3 separate regions of the Homo sapiens genome follow, and regions 1 and 3 are each linked to region 2. Evidence: promoter capture Hi-C in 16 types of primary human blood cells and fetal thymus (Javierre and others, 2016). All regions are on one chromosome and are shown on one strand. Each heading gives the region's core, a stretch centred on a gene start or on the middle of the fragment in contact. The rest is flanking DNA. Distances are from core to core; before and after follow the strand shown. Region 1 overlaps DCBLD2 (discoidin, CUB and LCCL domain containing 2). Region 2 holds the start of TBC1D23 (TBC1 domain family member 23). Region 3 has its middle 2.9 kb from the start of PCNP.

What was found. Contacts are between HindIII fragments. The CHiCAGO score rates a contact against its expected background, and 5 or more counts as called.
Region 1: a contact is called between a fragment that was not itself captured here and the fragment with the promoter of TBC1D23 in region 2, in 1 of 17 cell types (naive CD4 T cells). The highest score is 5.5, in naive CD4 T cells.
Region 3: a contact is called between a fragment that was not itself captured here and the fragment with the promoter of TBC1D23 in region 2, in 5 of 17 cell types (neutrophils, naive B cells, fetal thymus and 2 more). The highest score is 7.0, in neutrophils.

The regions. Positions count from the first base shown.
Region 1 is chr3:98,894,839-98,897,538 of GRCh38, reverse strand. The region is part of intron 1 of DCBLD2 (discoidin, CUB and LCCL domain containing 2); the gene reads left to right. Among named protein-coding and RNA genes, the nearest start is that of DCBLD2, 5.5 kb to the left of the region's middle. The HindIII fragment of the contact is 1,272 bases long and covers 698-1,969 here.
Region 2 is chr3:100,259,635-100,262,581 of GRCh38, reverse strand. It overlaps TBC1D23 (TBC1 domain family member 23), which reads right to left and starts at 1,590. Exons shown (of 19, transcript NM_001199198.3): 1 at 1,511-1,590. The coding sequence starts at 1,563. RefSeq lists enhancers at 849-1,517, 1,293-1,782, 1,518-2,186. The HindIII fragment of the contact is 5,201 bases long and covers 272-2,947 here.
Region 3 is chr3:101,569,978-101,572,677 of GRCh38, reverse strand. No RefSeq gene overlaps it. Among named protein-coding and RNA genes, the nearest start is that of PCNP, 2.9 kb to the left of the region's middle. The HindIII fragment of the contact is 1,391 bases long and covers 575-1,965 here.

The DNA.
Region 1 (2,700 bases), core at 84-2,583, 1.4 Mb after region 2:
ATAAAAACTTATTTCTCTCTGCAAATAAACATTTGTAATTATTTTTCACATTGACATTAGGTTAATTTAGAAATTTCCATTGTCTTTTCTTTGTCTGATAAAACATTGGGGCTCTTATCCAGTTTTGTTCAGAAGCAAATAAATCAAAGCATCCTTTTCTGCTATATTTCTAATTAATTTTACAAAATGAAAATTAGAAGCAGCACACAATCCACACGTGTGAATGATCAGATTGAAACAGCACATTTTTGAAACTTGTAAATGAAAAATTGATTCTAAGATTGCAGGTAAATTATAGGTAGATTTCTCAGTGTTAGAAACAAAAAGAACATATTATTTTCCCTGGGGATAGTTGATAATTCCATTTGAACATCTGAGCCTCATTTTAAAGACAAACATGTAAAAATATCTTAAAATGGTGGAATTGGCATAAGTAAAATACCAGTAGTAGAATTAAAATGACAAATTAATTTCCAAAAGTTAATAGATCATGTATGTGGGAAAGGGCTAGATTTACATAGGAGTAGAATTTAAATTTAGGACTACACTTAGCAAAGTGACACTGGGAAGTGAAGCTCAGGTAGTAATGTTGGACATTAATTGAATGCATACAAGTAGACAGTTTCTGCTTCCACTTCTTGATATATTTGGAAGGATATGGAATGATGACCCAACAGTAGAAGGATGAGGAAAAGCTTCATAAAGATAGTGATATTTGCTAAGTGTGATTGTTGAAATATGAAGTGAGACAATTTGGCAATTTTTCTGATGTGGCTCCTGGATTCGGTTTTCTTTATAACAACCTTACGGCCATAGGACTTTGTATTTATTTTTAAATATTGTATGGATAACAATGATTATTACTCAAAACTAAAAACGTAGATGATTATCCACATTTCTGTCTTCTAATCCATCGACTTATAATTTTTAACTTTCCTTTCTATTACATATTCACATACCTGCATAATCTTTTGTAGTTGTAATTTTAATAGTGTGTTCATGTAAAATTAACTTATAGGCTAATTTAGCACACATAAGCATACCTACAAAATACAGTAAAACAAAAATTTCAAAATGCAAAATTTTATCATAAGACATTCAGTATTTATAAAGTAATTACTGTATTGTTCAGAGCTGTTATTGTATTTAATTGAATTCTTCATTCTGGAGAAAAATCTTTGAGAAAGTATTTCAGTTCAAAATGTTAGTTTAGAAACAAATATCAGGCTAATTTTTCAGTTCATTATTTGGGTTAAATTAGTACAACCTATGAGGACAGAAAATACAGATATTCAAATAAACTAGTATCTAATGAGTGCCAGTGCAGTACCCACTGAAGCTGATGAGATACTCATGATTTCCAAGGGCTACTAAAACATCATTCACCAGCTGAACGTGCACCCTGATGGGTGTGTAATTGAAAGAAAAACTTTGATTTGCTGCTTGAATTATGGGAGAATCCCAAGATGCACGTTCCCTCAACTGCTTTTTAAGGAGAGTGGCCCAGAATTCCCTGCAAGGCTTTTGTTGAGTAGGGTGTGTGCAACCTTGCCTTCAAAACTGAATTGCCTGGGATCAAAGAGAAGGTATTGGCACTCTTTATCATTCTCTCATTAAGAACTATCAGTATGAAGGGGTACCAACTGTGAACTCTCAAGAGAGTGTGCATGTACCTCAGTATAGTCCTGAGACATTCAGAGAAGAGTAAAACATTGTTATTGTCTTCAGAGAACCTACAGTCTATTTGAGAAAGTAATTCAAGTTGGAATATATATAATAATAACCAAGGAAGGATATCAGAAGGTTATGTAAGGCAGAGAGAACTCACCACTCCTGGAGAAGCAGGAGACGCCTACTATAATAATAATCAAGGAAGGTTATAAGAAGGTTGTATAAGGCAGAAAAAGCTCACAACTCCTGGAGAAGTAGGAGACGCCTCACTGATAAAGTGGTTTTAGATTGGTAAGCTTTGAAGTTTGGTAGGTTTCTTGTCCACAAGGAACAGCAGATATTTGAAGAGTAAGATCATAAGATTATAACCTGGGGAGTCAGGAAAGTGGGAGTGTGAAAGCCCACCCTTTTAGAATGAGTAGCAAAACTCATTCTGGTCATGCTCCACTGTTTGCTTCTTGAACTCATGCCCTGTGTCTGCCCAGTTATTGGAAAAACGTTGGTTGGTTACTGTGGGCCAGGCATGGTACCACATGCTGGGGCATTTTCCTCTTGGAGCTGTGTTAATGACTTCCATAGTGTTGCCAGCAGCCCCTTTATCATCTGTAAGATACCGTCCAAACTCCTTTGCGTATCATGTAAGTAATTTTTTTCACAGTCTGGTCCCTCCCTTTCACTCTGACTTAATCTAATGCCAGCATTTCTCACACTGTATAGTTCAGATATGAGACTGAGCTAATTTTATTCTTCTAAGATATAATTTCATGCCATTTTGCCTTGTTCCCTATACTAACCTCTTCATATATGCAGTTTCCTCTACTTGAAATGCTCTTACTTTCCTTGTCTTCTCGGTAAACTCTCGATCAGCCTTCAAAACCCTTCTTGGGTATCATCCCTTTATGAAGAGTTCTCGAACAGTCCCCACACACTCATCTCCGGATAATACATTCCACACTGTATTCTAAGTATTTATTCCTGCCAGCGGAGAGAGTTTTATTCATTTTCTTATTTCTAATACTTATCATAGTG
Region 2 (2,947 bases), core at 341-2,840:
GGCTAATTTTTATATTCTTAGTAGAGACGGGGTTTCACCATGTTGGTCAGGCTGGTCTGGAACTCCTGACTTCAAGTGATCCGCCCGCCTCGGCCTCCCAAAGTGCTGGGATTACAGGCGTGAGCCACCGCGCCCAGCCTTCTTTTCAGTTTTAAATGCTGCTACTACATAATTTTAAATTACAATATGTGGCTTCTATTAGACAGCCCTGGGGCTTAAATCCTACTTATTCTTCAAAGCCTAGTTGAAACACTGCTGCTTTCATGAAGCTTTCCCCCAGTGACTCCAACTGCCCCAGCCCCCACCGCCAACCTCTCGTAACACTTTGAATCACACTCACAAAGAATAAGATTAATTTTACCTTGTTACACCTTCCCAACTCCAACATAAGCAAGTTGAAGAAAAAAAAACTATATCTAGATCACCATGAAGTTTTCCTCTGACACCTTGGAGAGCCCAGCGCTACGGTAATGTTTGATGTCTGCTAATGGAGAGCTGAATTTCTTAATTACTAATTATCTATCCCTTTCAACGATTTCCATTTTTTTCCTCTGGGATTAAAGTCGATGTCTATCAATGTCCTGTATTATTTTTAAAGTGCCCATGAGCTGTACACATACAATATAACGAACAAGCAAATCCAAAACTAATACATGTGGTCAATACACTTAGATCAACTGTAAAATTTAGACAAGCCTCTAAAGGTCCCTTTTTAAAAAATGATGTTGTACAACCTAACAGTGTATCGTGAGATCAACTATTTCAAAAGTAGAAGCCTTTCCCAAAGATTAACACTGGGTGAGCAGTTTACCAAAAAATTATTGGCGGTCTTCCCCCACAATCCCGAGTATAAATCAGGTAAGCATGCAACAGCTTGGGTGCAGTAAGAGCAAAGTCCCACACTGCATCCAAAGCTCAGAAATCGAGCTGTGAGAAATGTGGTAGTAGGGGAAAAGATGACTTGCGTGAAGGAGACGAACGATGAAAACTGTTGGAATGCAAAACGAGATAACAGCCAGAATAAAAAAAAGTATACCAACTAAGTGGGAGGGATTCTCCTCGGGTCAACCTCTGAACCCTCAGGCGAAGGTCGCAGTGGTCATTTCAAAACGTCTTTTCTTCACATTGTATTTTAGTGACTCAGATCTGCATCCAACAAACTTCCTTCTTCAGCCTACTCCAACTCCCACAGCCAGGACTCCGGCCAAACCCAGCCCTGAAGCCACCCACTCCAGCACACTTTGGAGACTGACAGACGACACAGGAGGACCGTTCTGAGGCCCAGCACCTGGATGACACCCCTCTCCTTGGGAGTCCCGCCCCAGTCCCTTGGGCAGAACCAGGCAGGCAGGGGGCACCCAGCTGGCAGAGGGGTAGGGCAGGGCACCGGACTTCGCCTAGGACCGGCCTCTCCGTTCCATGCCGACGCCAGACGGCTCCTCGGGGACCGGCAAGATGGTGAGAAGGAAGAATAAAGGGGCATTGGAAATTAGCCCCGGCTTTCACTCACCAGCCGTCGCCGCTCGACGTTGGCAGCGGCGGCACATCTTCTCCTTCCGCCATTGCTGTTGACGTCCACGTCACTTTGCCGAAAAGTGGATCCGGCGCTGAGACCAACTCCGAGACTCAATGTCGTAAAAGGTCTTCGGAAGTCCAGCACTGAGCTTCCCCAGAGGGGAAGAAAGAGGGAGGTGGCAAGGGACTGGAGGAACGCAACGTCACGGCGTCCCGAGGCCGAAAGGCAGCGTCTTGGGGGAGGAGACTTGGTGGAGGCAGCTGCCCCTCCAAAGACTACATGTCCCAAGATGCCACGGTGCCGCGGGCGGGGCGGGGCGCGGTGGACGCCGTCCCAGTTGGAGGCCTTGTGTGACAAACAGCGTGTCTTTTTAGCGTCCACTTAGCGTCTTCATTCCAGCTTGGCGTCGAAATTAACAAAGTTAGAATTTACAGTCCTAACTATTGGAGAAAGCAAGGGAAATGGGAATTGACATAGGGAAGGCGGACGTAGGAGAAGAGCCACAGTTCAGTAATTTCCTGCTGTAGCAATTTAATTTGAAGAAAGAGTGGGACGTAAGGAAAGGGGCAGACCACCCCTATTTGTGAGGCCCCGTCAAAAGTGTAAATGAAGGCCCACATACTTTTTGACTGAATATTTAAAAGTTGTAAATGAAGCTATATACTAAAGGAGATACGTTCTAGCCTCCTACCTTAAATATATCTTCCTAACAGTCTGGAAGATCAAGTCCGAATTTAGAATTCTAGGACTGGAATTCCAGGCAAGCAGAGCTGCCAAAATCCTTCTCTACGCGTTCCACTTCCCCTTTACACCGCATGGGCGGACACTTGGCCACCGCCGGGGCCTTGGGGTGAGCACACGCTCAGGAGGATGGACCTAAAGAAACGCTTTTGCAAGCCCTGAAAACAACAGTGATGAAGTAGAACTGCATGTAACAATATGGATACATCTGAAAAATACGCTGTTAAATGAGCAAAACAGATTGCAGACGGATAGGTAAAGTATGGTATCATTTATAGTTGGTGTTTAAAAGACAATATATTTAAAATAGATCCATATGAGTTTAAAATGCAGGAGAATGATATATAGAAAACTCGGAATGGCAGTTACATTCAGGGAAAGGGAGGAGTTTCCATGAATTTTTAAATATTTATTAAGGGCCCCAAGGTGGCCACATAGGTGGCCAGTGTTCTTTATAGAGTCTATACTTAGGTATCTAAAATGTTTCATAGTTTCAAAAACTATTTGTTTTAAATAGATACAAAACAGTACAGCTATCTCATTTACAACCAAAAACATGTTCACTCTCTTCCCTAAAGGGAAATAATACAGATCTGCATGGTACTGCACCCACTTCCAAGGCCCGGATCTCTGTAATGTTCAGTTCTCTGTTAGGGAACATTTCTTTTAACATAGAATGAGACTGTAGAT
Region 3 (2,700 bases), core at 21-2,520, 1.3 Mb before region 2:
GGGGGGTGGAATGGAGTCTCTCATTCTGTCACCCAGGCTGGAGTGCAATGGCATGGTCTTGGCTCACTGCAACCTCCGCCTCCTGGGTTCAAGCGATTCTCCTGCCTCAGCCTCTCGAGTAGCTGGGACAACAGGCGCGTGCCACCACACCCGGCTAATGTTTGTATTTTTAGTAGAGACGGGGTTTCACTATGTTGGCCAGGCTGGTCTCGAACTCCTGACTTTGTGATCCGCCCACCTTAGCCTCCCTAAGTGCTGGGATTACAGGCGTGAGCCACCGTGCCCGGCCGATGCTTGTAATTTTTAAGTGAAGAAGATAAAGCTCAGAGAAGTCACATACCTATTTAGGAGCGGATCCAGTTCCCATATACCACACTGCAGAAGTTAAGGATGCATGTGCAGGACTAGGTATGAAAGGAAAAAAACGAAACAAAAAAAGGATGAAGATAGTAATCCATTCACCTTTCAGTTCTGTGAGTTTCATGAGGTGTGCCTGTCTTGTTCACCACTGTTTCCCCAGCACCTGGATTATACTAGTCTGGATAAATATCTATTGAAGAAATTAATGCAAGCTTCAGTAACCTCCTACAAACGGGTTAGGAAATGGAAAGGTAGTGTAGTATGAAGGGGTGGAAAGGGGGTGATCACTTTCCTCCCCATCAAAAGAGTCATGACAACATGCTTGTTAATAAAAGACAGGTTAACAAGAGAAAATTAATGTGCATAAGCATGGGAATGATACAACAAAATAAGAAAACTAAAAAAAGGGTCAGATGGTTGAAGTTTAATACTTTTCATAGGGGAGAGAGAGGTGGGGGGGCTACAGGCAATTTTAGAGGAGTAGTAAATGATTTTAGGAGAGATTAATGCAGAAATTCACTTGTAAATTATTCTCTTTGTAAACCAAGTGAAACTAGAGAACCAATAATAATTCGAAGGCCAGTCGTGGTGACTCACTCCCATAATCCCAGCTACTAGGGAGGCTGAGATAGAAGGATCACTTGAGCCCCGGAGGCAAGGTTGCAGTGAGCCAAGATCTCGCCACTGCACTCCAACCTGGGTGACAGAGTGAGACCCTGTCTCAAAAACAAAAAACAGTAGTTTGAGGCAAAGTTTGGGCTCTAAGTGTGGTGGTTAATTTTCAGTCTCTTCCTCTATGATGTGAGTTTTGTTTTTTTATGAGACCAGGTCGCACTGTGTTGCCCAGGCTGGAGTGTGGTGGCTATTCACAGGCATGATGATAGCACACTACAGCCTCAAACTCCTGGCCTCAAGAATCCTCCCATCTGAGACTCACAGGTAGCTGGGACTACATGTGTGCACCACTGTATCTGGCTTTGTGATATGTTTTAATTTCTTCTGGTTAATGAAATTTCAGGGAGGAAGCAGATAGAAAGCAATTGTGTTCTTTGATGTGTGTGGTTTCTAGGTAGATAAGAAACTTCAAAGAACAGTCTTATCCCGTGTTTTGGGGGAGGCAGAGGATTGAGAGGCAGGAGGTGGGGTGGGGAGATCAGAGAAACCTTGCGGCTGCTTCTCTAGTTCAGCATGTCAAAGCACCAAATTTTGGGGTACCGTTTTCTGACAATGAATAGGCAATGTAGTCCAAGGCAAAGAGCATTAGTTTTGCACCACACAAAAACTCGACTTAAATTCTAATTCTGCATTTTGCTAATTCTGTGAGTTTGTACTGGATAACAATGTTATGGAATATGTTATAACTATACAAATGGAATAATACATATAGGGTTACTGAGGGCATTGGGATAATAAAGGTTAAATCTATAATATGCTGCCTGGCCATGGTGAGAGCTTGCTTCATAGTAGCTATGGATTATAACCTCTAGTGAGCTATTTAAGTGGTTTAAAAGGCTGGAAATGGAAGGTAATATGAGCAATTATTATTTTAATTTAGATGTGTAATTTGTGAGGCGACAACTATAATATCTAACATTTATTCAAGCTTACTATACACCAAGCATTGTTGCAGGTATTCTACATGAAATTCAGTACATTAAATCATTACAACCCTGTGAATTAAGTGCTACTGTTACTCCCATTTTTATGGAAGAGGGAATTTGGGCACGGAAAAGATAAGTAAGAAGTGGAGCTGAACTTGAAATTCAGGCCAAGAGCTACCAAAAAAAAAAAAAAAAAAATTAGAGTGGAGAAGAAAAGTGGCTAATCTTGATTTCACTAACCTTAAGTAGGTTCTTTTTTTTGTTTTGTTTTTGTTTTTGTTTTGAGACAGGATCTCGTTCTGTTGCCCAGGTTAGAGTACAGTGGCTCATAGCTCACTGCAGCCTTGAACTCCTGGGCTGAAGTGATCCTCCTGCCTTAGCCTCCCAAAATTCTCGGATTACAGGCATGAGCCATTAAGTAGGTTCTTAATGTAGCCTTATAATTCTATTACATGTCCTCAGACTATTCTCAATTTCAGTGTACATCAGAATCACCTGAAGGACATGTTAAAACAGATTGCTGGGCCCCATTGCCAGTTTCTGATTCAGTTGACTCAATGGCTGGAGCCCTAAAATTTGCATTTCTAACTAGTTCCCAAGTAATGCTGATGCTGCTCGTTGGGGAACCACACTTTGAGAACCACTGCCCTAATTCACTCACTTTCCTATACTATTTCATGTTTTGTTGGCTCTCCAAAAATGTCCATTACGTCCTCCCACTTGGGATGATTTTGCTTTT